2 separate regions of the Homo sapiens genome follow, and region 2 is linked to region 1. Evidence: promoter capture Hi-C in 16 types of primary human blood cells and fetal thymus (Javierre and others, 2016). All regions are on one chromosome and are shown on one strand. The core of a region is centred on a gene start or on the middle of the fragment in contact, and the rest is flanking DNA. Distances in the headings are between cores, read along the strand shown. Region 1 holds the start of TPRKB (TP53RK binding protein). Region 2 overlaps CCDC142 (coiled-coil domain containing 142).

Region 1 (4,010 bases), core at 1,199-3,698:
GAATTTTTTAAACCAGAGGTTGCTTACGGTATTAATGAAGTCTTACTCTATCTTAGTCTTTTTAACTTCCTGATCTCATCATTTTATTTATATTTTAGGAAGGCCTAGACATAAATATTAAGGAAGAAAATAATTTTAAAGAATAAAGTAGGCTGGGTGCAGTGGCTCATGCCTGTAATCTCAGCACTCTGGGAGGCCGAGGCGAGCAGATCACCTGAGGTTGGGAGTTCGAGACCAGCCTGACCAACATGGAGAAACCCCGTCTCTACTAAAAATGCCAAAAAAATTAGCCAGGCATGGTGGCGCATGCCTGTAATCCCAGCTACTCAGGAGGCTGAGGCAGAAGAATCGCTTGAACCTGGGAGGCAGAGGTTGCAGTGAGCCGAGATCATACCATTGCACCCCAGCCTGGGCAACAAGAGTGAAACTCCGTCTCAAAAAAAAAAAAGAATAGGGGGAAGGGATAGCATTAGGAGATATACCTAATGTAAACGATGAGTTAATGGGTGCAGCATACAAACATGGCACATGTATACAGATGTAACAAACCTGCACGTTGTGCACATGTACCCTAGAACTTAAAGTATAAAAATAAAAAAAAAGGATAAAGTATCCCACTTGACCCAAAGATATTCATTCCACGCATGGAAATTAAGCAGAGAGGGTACAATTATTAAATAATCAATGTCGCTCCTTTCTTGGACATAAGCTTAACAAGAAAAGGATAGGTTATTATATATAAAGACATAAAAGAAACATAAAAGACAACTTGAATAACCAGAAAGACATGACCATATCTTTGAATGGAAAAACTATGTATTGCAAAAATTTCTTTAAAACAATTTCTATCAAATTCTTAATAAAATATTTTGGTGGGGCAATTTGAGACTCATTTTATCCTTTTACCTGGCAGATTATATTTCTAGAACTCTTTCTGATGGAAGTCATTAGGAATCCAATAATTATATAAGATGTTCCTCTCATTATTTTAACAGTAAAAAGTTGCAAATAACCTATCTAGCTAATGATGGGATTAGTTGTTATTTAACAACCATTAAAACATGTGGTCTTGACGGTGTGTAAAAACGGCAATAAATAACATTAAGTAAGTAAAAACATCTGAATGGAAAACAAAACACAAACTGGCCAAAATGTGGGTTTTTTAAAAGGCTTTTAAACAAATATTAAAAAGAAAATACACCAAAAAGTTAATGTTATCTCTTATTTAGAATTAATTTGACTTTTTCTGTTACAAACAGAAAAAAATATATTTGTGAACGATATCCTGGCACACAGTTCAATCATTAGTCATGCTAAGGTGGAAAAAATGGATACAGAAAGACATAATCAGTAGGATCCCAATTATATAAAAAGATACACATATTTTTTTAAAATACATGAAAGAAACACTAAAATATGACCATCTTGGGTAGTGAGGTTATGAGGTGATTTTTATTGTCCTTTATATAAAAGAAAATATTTTGTTATGTATGTTCTGAATTTTCTACAGTAAGCACACAAAACATGAGTACACATAATAAGAAAGGAAAAAAACGTGCTTTTTAACACTGAGTGGGGGGAAGAACCCTTAGAAAACTTCAAAATAGTTTGTTCTTGTTTAGCGTAATTTACTCACTCAGGTCAGAAACTTGGAATCATCGTTGAGACCCAACCTGTCACTCAAATCCTATATCTAATCCGTAAAGTCCTGAATTTTCACCTGCTAAATATACTTTTGATTCGTCCACTTCTCTCCCATACGCTAGGTCACATCGCTCATCTACAGCAGTAGCCTTCTGAGTGGTTTCTCACAATTCCTGCCCTCCTATAATCCAGTCGTCACCAGCAGTTACAGTGATCCTTTCAAAATGTACATCAGATCTTGTCATTCTGCTGCTCTTATGATAAAGCCCCAACTTTGTGTCACGGTGTTCCACACTCTACGATCTGGTCCCTGCCTCTCCTCTTCTGCTACCGCCGCAATGGCCTTCTCTAAGCTCAAGTCACCAACCTTTCTCCCCGATTCTGCCCTATCGGACAGGTAGTTCCCTCTCTCCTTTCATCTCCGCCTGACGCACTCCTCCCTCCCTTCAACTCCATTTGGAGTCCATTTACTACAGCGCCCAGAACCCCGGCACTACGGCTCTTTTTAGTCTGAGGACTAGCTCCTTTTTGGGCCCAATCACAACTCTGAAGAATCCTGCGCCTATCCGCTGCATGTCTCCTCACTAAACTATTTCTTGAGGGGACAGCCTGACTCTATCATTCTCGTGCTGCATTCCCAGGGGCTGGCCTCGTTGCCGCTTGAGAAATACCAACCGCAGCCGTTGTCCCAAAGACACTACTAAAACTGCCCGGACCCTCCCGCTCCCGAGCCTGCCCGTTAGAGCGCAAGGAAAACTCACCATCCGGCCCCCAGTGCGTCTCGGAAGAGCTCCCGCTCCGAAACAAAGCTCACAACTTCCGGAAGCGATGGCCAATCCCCGTCTTCTTCGAGCCAGTTTCCGGATAGGCCGGCTCGGGGTGGCCATCTGTTTCCGGGTCCTGGTAGGAGGGGTGCTTCCGCCCATGGTCCCGCCCATTCTTCCGCCTCCCCAACCTGGGTCCCGTCAACGGACGCGAAGGAGAACAGGGGCTGTATATCACTTCCGGCGAAGGAAATGGAAGAATCTATGGGCTGGGACCGGAAGCTGGGGTCTGGTTTTGAGTCTCGGCTTTGTCTTAACCTGTGTTGGGCGTTGCACCGGGCGACCTCAGTTTCTTCCTGTACAAGGAAAAGTACTGACCAAAATGAGTTCTACATACATTTCCGCTGCTGGAGATTTCTTTGGTTTTTGAGACAGAGTCTTGCTCTGTTACTCAGGCTGGAGTGCTGTGGTGCAATCTCGGCTCACTGCAACCTCCGCGTCCCGGTTCAAGCCATTCTCCTGCCTCAGCCTCCCGAGCAGCTGGGACTACAGGCACCCGCCACCACGCCCCGCTAATTTTTTGTATTTTTAGTAGAGACGGGGTTTCACCGTGTTAGCTAGGATGGTCTGGATCACCTGACCTCGTGATCCACCCGCCTTGGCCTCCCAAGGAGCTGGGATTAGTTCTTTTTCTGGGCCATGTCTCCTGTGACACTTTGGACTTTTGAGTTTAATGCTGGAACAAGTTAAAATTTTGGTAGGTGATTGGGAAGGCATGATTATGTTTTGCAATGTCAGAAGGACATGAGATTTGGGGGTCCAGGGATGGATTGAATATATGTCCCTGCCAAATCTCATGTTGAATTGTCCCCATTTTTGGAGGTGGGACCTGATGGGAGGTGTTTGGGTCATGGAAGTGGATCTCTCATGGCTTGGTGTCTTTGCAATAGTGAGTGAGTGCCAGGAAGATGTGGTTATTTAGAAGTGTGTGGCACCCTCCAACACAGTCTCTTGGTCCAGTTCTCACCATGTGATGTGCCTGCTCTCTCTTCTCCTTCTGCCAATAGTAAAAGCTCCCTGGGGCCTCCTCAGAGGCCAAACAGATGGTGGTACTATGCTTCCTGTACAGCCTGCAGAAACATGAGCCAATTTAACCTCGTTTCTATATAAATTACCCAGTCTCAGGTATTTCTTTGTGGCAATGCAACAGCCTAATTGCAGGGGGCAGGGGCAGGGGGAAGAGGTGGGGAGGCATGACACACTGGGCTAAAACATGAAGAACATTCGGCCAGGTGCGGTGGCTCACGCCTGTAATCCCAACACTTTGGGAGGCCGAGGCAGGCAGATCACCTGAAGTCGGGAGTTCGAGACCAGCTTGACCAACGTGGAGAAACCCCGTCTCTACTAAAAAATAAAAAATTAGCCAGGCATGGTGGCTCATGCCTGTAATGCCAGCTACTCAAGAGACTGAGGCAGGAGAATCACGTGATCTGGGGAGGCAGAGGTTGCCATGAGCTGAGATCGCGCCATTGCACTCCAGCCTGGGCAACAAGAGTGAAACTCCCTCTCAAAAAAAAATAAATAAATAAAAATTAAAATTAA
Region 2 (3,757 bases), core at 434-2,933, 740 kb after region 1:
TTGGTTCAAAAGATGGAAAATCCTTGAGGTTAATTTTACTATACAAGAGCTTTAAGGAAAAAGAAAGACATACCCTGCCCCCACCCCCGCAACACACACACACACACACACACACACACACACACACACACACACACACACACACACACAGAGCATATGCCAGAAAGAGGGATTGTATGATCTGCAATGGGCAGAAATTGAGGGAAGAAAGGGGAATTACAACGACCTTTTATTTTTGAGGCAGAGTCTTGCTGTGTCGCCCAGACTGGAGTGCAGTGGCGTGATCTCGGCTCACTGCAACCTCTGCCTCCCGGGTTCAAGTGATTCTCCTGCCTCAGGCTCCCAAGTAGGTGGGACTACAGGAGTGCACCACCACACCCAGCTAATTTTTGTATTTTTAGTAAAGACAAGGTTTTGCCATGTTGGTCAGGCTGGTCTCAAACTCCTGATCTCAGGTGATCGGCCTGCCTCTGCCTGCCAAAGTGCTGGGATTACAGATGTGAGCCACTAAGCCACTACACCCAGCCTACAATGATCTTTTGGTTATCACCTACAAAAGGAAGACAAGAACTGTATGTAAACCAGAAGCAATGACTATTTGAATGTTCTGAGACTCAGGAAGTTTTGGAATGTCCTTACATTGAAAGGCATTATTATATATTATTATTCTTCACAGCCCACTCCAGAGCAATATAACCCATAAAGCAAGAAAAGGCCTATATGCTGGGTTTGTTTCTTTGGTTTGATAGGTTGTTTTTGGAGGGAGAGAACACAGCAATAAAGCTGGTTTCTGCTCTACAGCCCATCTTGAGGGAGAGGAACCCCAGTAAATGTGGTTAATGGCAGCTGCTCTGTAAAGAAATGGTAGATGCCAGGGAGCCTGAAGACAGGATAGACCTGGGGGCGGCCAGACATGGAGTGGAGCCCATATGGCTCCTGGCACATCTGACAACCTGTCTAAATCCAAAATCTTCCTCTCTTCTCCAGTAAATGCAAGCCCCCTTCTCCTCCCTTATTTATGTCAAGGAAATTGCCCTTTTGTCAACGGACTTTTGTTAGGAGCCTCTGTACTCAACACTGAGGGAATACAAGGTGCAGAGTGTGTGACAGTCTCTCCCCCACCCACTGGGATCTTATAGTCCAAACAGGAAGAAAACTCACAATGCCTCTTTTTTTTTTTTTGAGACCAAGTTTCGCTCTTATTGCCCAGGCTGGAGTGCAGTTGCGCAATCTCAGATCACTGCAACCTCTGCCTCCTGGGTTCAACCGATTCTCATGCCTCAGCCTCTGAGCAGCTGGGATTACAGGCACCCGTCACCATGCCTGGCTAATTTTTGTATTTTTAGTAGAGATGGGGTTTTACCATGTTGGCCAGGCTGGTCACAAACTCCTGACCTCAAGTTATCCACCCATCTCGGCCTCCCGAAATGCTGGGATTACACCCTTCTGCTCTTAAAATGTCACCCCCTCACTTATGAGGTAAAGCGCAAATTGTTGGGGCTGGTGTTCATGCCCTCCACAATTTGATGCCAAATTGCTTACTACCCTACCCCACACCCAACCCCAGTGAACATACCCACAAAAGGAACCTCTGCTCTGGTAAGGCCACCTCTCTGCTACCCCCACAAGGATCTACAAACTGCCCACTTCCAGTAACCCCAGCCACTCCTCTGAGGCTTCCCAGCCACCATCTCCAGCCATAGGCCATGTATGGAGCGTTCTTTAACCACATGCCCACTATAGCCTTCCTTCCTCAGGGCTCTATGACCGTCACTGTGTGCAGTACTCATGATGAGCCTGCTCTGGGGCATGTTGAGTTTAAGTAGACAGCAGTAAACTGAGGTAGAAATGCCCAACAGGCAAATGCAGATGTTTAACTAGAACTCTGGGAGCCAGGCTGGGTGTGGAGGCTCATGCCTGTAATCCCAGAACTTTGGGAGGCCAAGGCGGTGGATTGCTTGAGCTCAAGAGTTCAAGAACAGGGCACATGTTCTCAGATCTCCTGAGGGCTATGTCACGAGCCAAACTTCTAATTAAAAAAAAAATATATATATATATAAATAGATATAATATAAATAAAATATATATAGATATAATATAAATAAAATATATATATATACTTTTTTTTTTTTGAGTCTCACTCTGTTGCCCAGGCTGGAATGCAATGGCACGCTCTCGACTCACTGGAACCTCCGCCTCCCGGATTCAAGTGATTCTCCTGCCTCAGCCTCCCGAGTAGCTGGGATTACAGGTGTACACCACAATGTCCAGCTAATTTTTGTATTTTTAGAAGAGACAGGGTTTCACCATGTTGGCCAGGCCGGTCTTGATCTCCTAACCTCAGATGATCCACCTGCCTCGGTTTCCCAAAGTGCTGGGATTACAGGTGTGAGCCACTGCACCTGGACAAAAAATTTTTTTGTTTTCTGTTTTTTTTTTGAGACAGAATTTTTGTTCTTGTTGCCCAGGCTGGAGTGCAATGGCGCTATCTCGGCTCACTGCAACTTCCGCCTCCTAGGTTCAAGCGATTCTCCTGCCTCAGCCTCAGAAGTAGCTAGGATTACAGGCACCTGCCACCATACCGGCTACTTTTTTGTATTTTTAGTAGAGACGGGGTTTCACCACGTTGGGCAGGCTGGTCTTGAACTCCTGACCTCAGGCGATCCACCCACCTTGGCCTCCCAAAAAAGTTTTTTAAAAAGATTTTTAAAAAGGGTTCAAGACCAGCCTGGGCAACATGGCAAAACCTTGTCTCTACAAAAAAAAAAATTTTTTTAAGTAGCTGGGCATTGGCCGGGTGTGGTGGCTCACACCTATAATCCCAGCACTTTGGGAGGCTGAGGTGGGTGGATCACCTGAGGTCAAGGGTTCCAGACCAGCCTGGCCAACATGGTGAAACCCATCTCTACTAAAAATACAAAAACTAGCTGGGCGTGGTGGCAGGCGCCTGTAATCCCAGCCACTCAGGAGGCTGAGGCAGGAGAATCACTTGAACCTGAGAGGTGGAGGTTGCAGTGAGTAGAGATCACGCCACTGCACTCCAGCCTGGGTGACAGAGTGAGACACCTTCTCAAAAAAAAAAAAAAAAAAAGTAGCTGGGCATTGTGGCTTCCACCTGTGGTTCCAGCTACTCAGGAGGCTGAGGTGGGAGGATTGCTTGAGCCCAGGAGGTGGAGGTTGCAGTGAGCCAAGATCACATAACTGCACTCCAGCCTGGGTGACAGTGAGACCCCATCTTAGAAAAAAAAAAAGAACTCTGGGAGCCAGAAAGACTGAACCCGGGAGTTCACAGCAGCAAGACACTGTGGGTAAGCAGGAATACTGAGAGAAAAGCAGAGAGTTAAGGACTGAACTCTACAGCCACACCCCTATTCGGGGCAAAGAGGAGAAAACTGAGCAGGAAAACAAAAAACCAGACATCTTCCACATAGGAATAGATAAATGTGCAAAATGGGGAAGAAAAAGTATAATGGCTTTATTCATAAACATATAAGAAAATGTTAGGAGAAACAGGCAAACATGGATGAAGGTTACTACTGTGAAATAGAAATCAGAGGTGAGTGAGGGCAAACAAAGTGCTGTTTTTTCATTAGTTTTATAAAATAATATTCTATTTCACTTTTTAAACTATAGACATGCACTATTTTATTTTTTGAGACAGGGTCTCTCACTGTATTGCCTAGGCTGGCTGGAATGCAGTGGCTATCACAGCTTACTGCAGCCTTGACCTCCTGGGCTCAAACGATCCTCTTGCCTC

What was found. The method cuts DNA at HindIII sites, captures the fragments that hold promoters and counts their contacts. A CHiCAGO score of 5 or more calls a contact.
Region 2: a fragment that was not itself captured here is called in contact with the fragment with the promoter of TPRKB in region 1 in 1 of 17 cell types (non-activated CD4 T cells); the score reaches 5.9 in non-activated CD4 T cells.

The regions. Positions count from the first base shown.
Region 1 is chr2:73,734,897-73,738,906 of GRCh38, forward strand. TPRKB (TP53RK binding protein) reads right to left here and starts at 2,449. Exons shown (of 5, transcript NM_016058.5): 1 at 2,406-2,449. RefSeq lists enhancers at 2,711-2,790, 2,831-2,890. The HindIII fragment of the contact is 15,665 bases long and covers 708-4,010 here.
Region 2 is chr2:74,475,954-74,479,710 of GRCh38, forward strand. All of the region lies in intron 5 of CCDC142 (coiled-coil domain containing 142), which reads right to left. Among named protein-coding and RNA genes, the nearest start is that of MRPL53, 5.2 kb to the left of the region's middle. The HindIII fragment of the contact is 6,387 bases long and covers 1-3,757 here.